Linked DNA regions of Homo sapiens: regions 1 and 3 are each linked to region 2. The links are contacts of gene promoters, found by promoter capture Hi-C in human tissues and cell types (Jung and others, 2019). All regions are on one chromosome and are shown on one strand. The core of a region is centred on a gene start or on the middle of the fragment in contact, and the rest is flanking DNA. Distances in the headings are between cores, read along the strand shown. Region 1 overlaps ARB2A (ARB2 cotranscriptional regulator A). Region 2 holds the start of POU5F2 (POU domain class 5, transcription factor 2). Region 3 overlaps ARB2A (ARB2 cotranscriptional regulator A).

What was found. Contacts are between HindIII fragments. The study calls those that stand out against the background at their distance.
Region 1: a fragment that was not itself captured here is called in contact with the fragment with the promoter of POU5F2 in region 2 in 1 of the 25 tissues and cell types used here (H1 embryonic stem cells).
Region 3: a fragment that was not itself captured here is called in contact with the fragment with the promoter of POU5F2 in region 2 in 3 of the 25 tissues and cell types used here (H1 embryonic stem cells, hippocampus and mesenchymal stem cells).

What each region holds. Positions count from the first base shown.
Region 1 is chr5:93,777,601-93,780,321 of GRCh38, reverse strand. All of the region lies in intron 9 of ARB2A (ARB2 cotranscriptional regulator A), which reads left to right. Among named protein-coding and RNA genes, the nearest start is that of POU5F2, 37 kb to the right of the region's middle. The HindIII fragment of the contact is 3,965 bases long and covers 1-2,721 here.
Region 2 is chr5:93,740,313-93,743,219 of GRCh38, reverse strand. It overlaps POU5F2 (POU domain class 5, transcription factor 2), which reads left to right and starts at 1,620. Exons shown (of 1, transcript NM_153216.2): 1 at 1,620-2,907. The coding sequence starts at 1,657. The coding sequence ends at 2,643. The region is part of intron 10 of ARB2A (ARB2 cotranscriptional regulator A); the gene reads left to right. The HindIII fragment of the contact is 4,314 bases long and covers 1-2,907 here.
Region 3 is chr5:93,678,502-93,681,201 of GRCh38, reverse strand. All of the region lies in intron 10 of ARB2A (ARB2 cotranscriptional regulator A), which reads left to right. Among named protein-coding and RNA genes, the nearest start is that of MIR2277, 59 kb to the right of the region's middle. The HindIII fragment of the contact is 9,368 bases long and covers 1-2,700 here.

The sequences.
Region 1 (2,721 bases), core at 72-2,571, 37 kb before region 2:
AACATACCCCTGGCCTCTGAAATTCTCCAGCCACACCAGATGTGCGGCTCTACATAATAGTTGTGAACCCTTCCTATCACCATTCAACTCTGAGTGTAGGGCTTTAGAAACTTGACCTAGTGAACCATAGTTGTATTTGTCCGAGGACACAAAACCTTTCACATTAAAAATCAGCCTTTAAAGCAATGGCGATTTACAACTCAGACAAATGCAATAAAAATGAATAAAAATCAAGCCTCAACCAAGGTAGTAAGCATCTCCAAATACCTCCAGACACCTTGCACAGGAATAGCTACTACCTGCTTTTCTCTTTAAATATAATATACTAAATTGTAATGTTTTTATTTAAAAAAAGTTATTTCAAACCTACTCTGAAATATTGTTGACCCTTGGTTCAAATGTCAAAGGGAATCACTCAGCACTGGGGCCTGTAGGCATTTCTAATCCATATCAATAGCTCCCCAAATTTTGGATGTTACAAAAAGGAAAATTTACAACCACAAAAATCTATAGGATCATCATTTTAGGGTAAAAAAATGTTTAAACTGAAAACACTTAGCTTTAAGAAATACTTTCTACATTACCTATTTTTCTCTTTTTCCTTCAGACCCAGAGAAACATTAGTCATGCGATCTGTCCCTATCTGCCCGCCCTGGCCAAGGACTTCTTTCTCTATGCTTGTTTGTTGGGACTAGGGGAGGCTGCATCTGAGACTCAAGCATGGCACTATTGGTACCTTGAGTTCAACATACCTTGTTGCCTATTCAGGGGACCTGAGAATAAATCTCAGGGGCTGCTAACCCTGTCCAGCATGTTTTGAATTTAGATAGGGCTTTCCTAGTGGGCTGCCTGCATCACTACTCGGAACACTTTGGTAGTGTTCATCTCAACTAAAAATTGGGATGGGGACAAACGGGGGCCTTGAAAAAAGGGACACGTAAGTATTAGAAAAGCACCAAAAGACACTTGACTTCTAAACTATAGTAACACATTTCAGAATAGGGAGTTAGATTTGATAAAATAACATTTCAGACAGATTGAATTTAGATATAATAGCTGTATGTCTTTCTTTGCATATGTTTATTTTATTTCATTATGCTCTATCATATAGCAAACATTTAACTTGTTTTGCCCTTTTTTCTATATACTTTTTGGGGTAAAAATGCCACATGCCCCTGCACGTGCGCGCGCGCGCGCACACACACACACACACACACACACACACACACACTCTGAAATGACCATATCAAATCTGTATAGTTCTGCACAGGTACTTGGTCATTGCAGAGAACTTTTGGACATACTCACTTTAATTATAGGATGTTAAACTTCTGTCCAGTTTTTATGAGAGATCAAAGCCTTAAACATGTGGCTAGATAAAAACTGAAATTTTACAAACATAAAATGTTAACTTATATTTTGCTTTAAGTGTTTGAGTTAAAGGTGAGCTGAGCAAACTGGACAAAAGTTCATTTTGTTCAGCTTTTTAAAGTAACAATTTAGAAAATGATTAATCCTCTGCATACTGTAATGTGCCATCACTTATATTAATACTAGAAAATCCTATAAGACATAGTTTTACATATGTGAAGTGTAGGTGAGCAGTAGGAAGACCGACATATCACCTGGTTAATAGCTGACTTTCATCAGATTTGGAGGTACTAGTTGGATGAATAATAATTAAAATACATACAGTACCTAATCGCTGCCTGTCTGTCGGTAGTGCTAATTGCTGTCATTGAAAAGACTGAATTGTTTAAAAAAAAGAGAGAGAAAGAGAAAGTCATTCTTCATTGAAGCTATCTCCCTGTATCATTGGGAGCCTATTTTTAGTACCTATAGAAGTCATGATTTTTGAATTTATTAGGGGCTGTGATGAATGATAAAACAAATCATCCATTTACATATCTTGACACTGCTTTGGAGAATACTTATTTCTTACAAGCAAGTGTCACATTGTATATAAAAGCTGGCTAATTGTGTGCTAATCTTCTGCATTATCTAGAACTCTCTGATGTGGTATTCTATCAATGGTAATATTAATTTTACTTATTTCAAATGTATGAAATATCTTCTAAAACCCTATTTCTTTTATAGTTTCTACTCTTACATTGTGTAATTTTGCATTCAACTGCTAATTAAGATTAGGAGAGCACATTATAGAATATGTATCCATTTTAAACCATCAAGCTTTTGTAATGCATGAAAAATACTAATATTTTATCCATTTTAAATGTAAAAAGAGAGAAAGTATTTAAGAACATTACTAGATGTTATGTTTGTTTTCATGTTTTTTTTCCTACACAGTTCAATAGTTTCATTGATCTACTGTTTCTTACAAAAATCTGCCATGCTTTGTGAACTTCACTTTCTAATCTCATACAGCAACCCTTCCTTTATGTTATTCCTGCTCTCCCTGGTCCCAGAACAGTAGGGTTGCCTTGACAAATCTATTCAAAAGCCATTCCTCGGCCTTTATTGGTGAGGACTGGGGCCTTTGAAATTCTCTCCTCACTGCAACACAGCTGACATCTTCTTCCAGACAGAATGAATTAAGGAAATACAATAAGACACTTGATCTACCAGTCAAGGATCTTTCCACAGTGAGGACGGATTCCATGGTGCACAACCAGGGAAGCAAGCATCTAAAAATACACAATACATGCTTGTTTACCAGAATAGCAATCAGCGATTTTGGCAAAATGATTGATGGGATGATTT
Region 2 (2,907 bases), core at 371-2,870:
CAGCCTGTAGCGATGGCAGCCAATTTTCTGATTCTTTTTCCTTTACCATTGCTTCAAGGCCATATCTGCAACCCAACCTGTAGTGTTGGGTTGAATTTAGTCTCAAGGTGCTGCCTTCATCTAGGAAGAGGTATTTAAGGGCCCAGGAAGATGAGGCTAGGAAGGAGATGGTAGACTTCAGATGTTTTAGGAGTCCCAGTACATAAGATTTGACACCCTGTGGAGAACAGAAAAAGTCAAGAACAGCTCCTAGGTTTAAGCTTGGATGACTGAGTTATTGATAACTAGTTCAAAAGTCCCGGGATGAGAGGTAGGTTTAGAAGTGTGGATAATGAATTTGACTTGGGGCAGTGAAAAATACAAAACTGGAAATCAGAAGAGAAGTCAGAACTGAAATACAGATTTGGCTGTTATCACCATTTCATGTAAATTTTAAAAGGAGAAGGAGCAAGAAGAGTTGTCACTATAGCCAGATACAGCAGGATGAGGATTTTTTAAAAGGCCATTGGATTTGACAGCTGAAAAATCACTGATGACTTCAAGAAGACCAGTTTCAATAGATGTGGGTGGGGACAGAGCCACATCATGGTTGGTTTAAAGAATGAAGGGCTATGATTGTCTAGCCAAGGTCATTGTGCTCTTCCTCCTAGGAAACATTGAAACTGAGGTCAGAGCCTCTCTTTCTCCCTCCCTCCTTAGCTTTCTGCACACAGGGCCCACAACTGGATGCCTGAGCTAGGGGCATGATGGAGGGACAAATTAAGATTGTTGGGTTTCTGGTGGGATAAGGGCCTAAGGATAAAGGAGCCTGATGTTGGTGAGTCATATATTGCAGGGAGCATCCTCAGTGGGGGACAGTGGGTCAGGCCAGTTCAGAGACCTGTCTCTAGAGTGGGAAAGAGAAGACACACACCTAGATCTCTGTTGGTTGAGGAAACTCTGGACCAAGAAGCTGGGTTAGAATGGGAAACAAAAGGACCTTCAAGGCTAGGGGAAGAAACATGGAATTAGTTACAAAGTTCTGCCCCAGGGAGGGAGTGGAATCTGGCAGTTTGGGGGTGGGGTCGGGGGTAGAATCTGAGGTAGTAAACTGATGTTAACTAGAAACTCAAGCAGGGTTGCCTAGGTTTCTTAGGGCACAGGGACTGGGGATGTGCAAAGAGGAACTGTTGGCAGTACTTGTGACCATAAAGATAGTAGTGAGGGGGCAGTTTATGAATTGAGGGGTCGTCCCAGCAATATCTGGCATATAGATATTTAATAATTATTTGTGAAGACAAGAGGTTAGGTAGCTCCTGGGGATCAGGGTCCAGAGTTTCTGAACAGGCATAAGAAAATACCTGGGTTCTATTCAGGCAGGGGATGGAGGCAGTGAGTAAGGGACTCCAGACAGCTTGGAGATGCAAATCCCACAAGGGAGCTTTGTACCTCTATGGGAGTTGGAAGCAAAGGTCAGGGTAGGGGGCTCACTCCCTTAACCCTAGGACCCAGGAGTTCCTATGGATCTACCAGATTTCCCCGCCTACGCACAGGCACCCTTGGCTTGTAACGCCTTCTCCGCCCACTGGGGGGCGGGGCTTGAGGGGGCCGGTGGCTGTTCTGAAGCCTCGAGGGCCATCAGTTCCTACCAGAGCCGCTGCGGGTGCCATTCCACCCATGGCCGGACACAGGCCCTCAAACCACTTCTGCCCCCTTCCAGGCAGTGGTGGGGGCGGCCCCAGAGGGCCGATGCCCCTGCGGGTTGACACTCTGACCTGGTTGAGCACCCAGGCGGCCCCTGGCAGGGTGATGGTCTGGCCGGCAGTCAGGCCAGGGATCTGCCCAGGCCCTGACGTGTGGAGGATTCCCCTGGGTCCCCTGCCACACGAATTCCGGGGCTGGATAGCACCCTGCAGGCCCCGTCTTGGAGCTAGTGAGGCAGGGGACTGGTTGCGACGCCCCTCCGAAGGCGCCCTCCCGGGGCCCTACATTGCCCTGCGGAGCATTCCGAAGTTGCCGCCGCCAGAGGACATCTCGGGCATACTGAAAGAGTTGCAGCAATTGGCCAAGGAGTTGAGGCAGAAGAGGTTGAGCCTAGGGTACTCGCAGGCCGATGTGGGGATCGCTGTGGGAGCTCTGTTTGGGAAGGTGCTTAGCCAGACGACCATCTGCCGCTTCGAGGCCCAGCAGCTAAGCGTCGCCAACATGTGGAAGCTGCGACCACTGCTGAAAAAGTGGCTGAAGGAAGTGGAAGCAGAGAACCTTCTGGGCTTATGCAAAATGGAGATGATCCTGCAACAGTCTGGGAAGTGGAGACGGGCAAGCAGAGAGCGACGAATCGGAAACAGCCTGGAGAAATTCTTCCAGCGGTGCCCTAAGCCCACACCCCAGCAAATCAGCCACATTGCTGGGTGCCTCCAGCTGCAGAAGGATGTGGTTCGAGTTTGGTTCTATAACCGCAGCAAGATGGGCAGTCGACCAACCAATGATGCTTCCCCACGGGAGATTGTGGGGACAGCCGGGCCTCCTTGCCCAGGAGCACCAGTGTGCTTTCACCTGGGACTGGGGCTCCCAGTGGATATCCCCCACTATACACGTCTCTACTCTGCAGGGGTAGCCCACTCCTCTGCCCCAGCCACCACTCTGGGCCTCCTCAGATTTTAGGGCTGAGGGGCTTGCCCTTCACGGCACGGTTGGAGAGGGGAGAAGAAGGGAAAACCCAGGAAATGTCCCTAGGGTTCATTTGAGGGCTTTTAGTATTAATTTCTCATTCACTGTCTAAAGAAGTTAAGGATACATAGTAGGGAATGGGGGTGGGAATTGTTCAAGAAAAACCTGGGAGAGAAGATGAAGTTTATTGCAGTTTTGTGTTTTCCCTTTGTTTTTCCCTAGCATTGGTTTAAAGGTACATTACAGTATATAGATGGT
Region 3 (2,700 bases), core at 101-2,600, 62 kb after region 2:
ACTATACAACTGGGAATAGTAATTCTGAGAGCTCAAAATAGTAATAAAAGCACCTATTTGGGGGATTTTTTTTTCTTGACTGGAAAAAAAAGGAAACATTACATATAAAATCTTCTTCTTGGAGATACACTACACATTAACACATTAAAGGCCTGTGCCAGAGAAATCCATAATTTCACAAACTTATTTGCAGATAAAAGGCTTTGTTCATTGTGTACCTATTCATAAACATATCACTGTGTTCCACTGAAATTACTGGAAATTTTGGTCTTATCAATTACCTACTTATTTATAAATCTATCTAAGAAACAATAGAAGAAAGGGAAAGATAAAACTCAAAACTTCATTAGAAAGGTACTGAGACATCATTTAGTCCAGACCCTGTCTTTAATCTTGGTAATCAGAAACCGAATGTTACCTTTGACTTTGACACCTTTCTGGTCAAATTAAGTAGTGCCTTTAATGATACTTGTTTGCCAATCCTCTTTCCCTCATGAGACCATAAAATACCCAATAATCAGATTAACCTTTGTCTTACCATCATTGTAATCTCTAAATCTGGCTGATAGTAGGTGGTAGAAAAATACTTGTTGACTTGAAAGTGATGAGAAAACTAAACAGTTTGTGGCATACCTGTAATTACATGGATGATAGCAGGATACATTGAAAATAAATGAATTCCAAGAATTATGTTGAAAATTTTAGCTATGAGAGTGAGGAGAAACTTGAAGACAAGATACTTGGTATATTCCAGACATAACTCTAAAACTAACTAGCAATTATGATCTTGATCAAATCACTTAAGTTCTCTGAGACTCTGTTTCTTCTAGTTATAACTCTAAAATATTGGGGGAATCTCCATTTTTTATTATGACAAATAATCAAAAATTAACTAGATGTTGTGATTTACATTGGAAATATATTCTTATAAGAGACCACCTTTAAATACACAAGAGTTTTTAAGTATTTACTTCTTTATATTTATACTTAAACAGTATTCCTGAACCTCACAACTTTTTGTTTTCTTATTTTCCTCTTCGTTCCAGGCCTATCAAAGATGATGGAATCTTTGAAAGTGTGTCGATGTGTATGCTTATGTAATATTAGGACTGAAATTTTTAAATCTTAAAATGTGAAAGCTCCAGTTGTCAGAAGATCATAAGTCTTTACTTTTAAGGACTGTTAAAAATCACCTTCTGTGAGATCTCAGCTTTGGGATTTTTTTTGACATTTCAAGACTTAAATTTGAAAGTGTAGAATCTCTATAAATACAACATTACCACAAGCCCAAAAAAGTCAAGAAATGCAAAAGGTTAGATTCTTACTAACTCCTCTCCCACATTATGCTCTAAATTGAGTTATGTATCTTTGAGTTAAATACGTAATCAGGAATACTTTATATGAAATACAGTTTAAGTTATGACATATTAAGTTTTTCTCTTTGAATTTTGGGGCATAAAATTGTGTATGTAAATCATGCAATATCACATTTTTTGCATGTGCCCTTAAGGCTTTTTTATGTTTTCTTCACATAGTCCCCTCATTTACAACTTTATCTTGCTGTGGACTAACCATATGGGAAATCCACTATTTTAAACTTAAGCTATTTTTGTGGTGTTACTGCATAAGAAAATGCCTTTAGAGTAGAAAAATCATATATTTTTTAACCAGATTATATAAATAAAAATTAATTTTTGTCTAGTGGTCATTTCTTAGTTCAATTTGAAGTATATCATTTTTAATTCCTAAATATTTCTAGAAAGCCTCCATTGCCATGGCCAAGTGAAAAATCGAAGATAATAAAGAAGTGCCATGAGACCTGGACATTTTCGACGTGTTGAAGATTTAAAATTATGTGTAATTTACATGAGACATATAAATGAAAGGATAGACTTCACTAAGATTTTTTTTTTTTGCTTTAAAAATAGGGTATTTCTCTCCTGCAGCAGCATCTCACATCTCATACATATGTGCATATTTAGTTTTCTATGTAGCATTCAGTCCCAAGAACACTAATTATAATTTTAAATTATCAATAAGATATAGGCTTAAAGTACAGTAGATGTTGAATTTCATATCTCTTATAAGATTCCCTATCTAAAGAAAGCAACTACTTTATGCTTTTATTTTCATTTTTTAGAAATTGTTATGAACTTCATAGTCACTTATATTCCACTTTTTACGTTAAAAGCACTCTTTGAATTTGTAGTGTGCAAATAGGTATATGGTTTTTATGTCTAAGAAAAACATTGCCGATGGTAATTCATCTGTGTATCAGGAAACAAGTGAAAACCAACACACAATCCTCAGTTCACATGGGACCATCTCAAAGTGTTTCTTTGAAGTCCCTGTTGGTAATATTTACAAAATGGCTTGCCATTAACTTGTTAGTATGCTCATTACTTTTGTTTAGAAAAAACCTCAGTTATATTGCTTTTTTTTTTTTTAGACGAAGTCTTGCTCTGTTACCCAGGCTGGAGTGTAATGGCCCGCTCTCTGCTCACTGCAACCTCCGCCTTCTGGGTTCAAGCGATTCTCCTGCCTCAGCCTCCCTAGTAGCTGGGATTACAGGCGCCTGCCACCACACCCAGCTAATTTTTGTATTTTTAATAAAGACGGGGTTTCACCATGTTGGCCAAACTGGCCTTAAACTCCTGACCTCAAGTGATCCACCCACCTCGGGCTCCCAGAGTGCTGGGA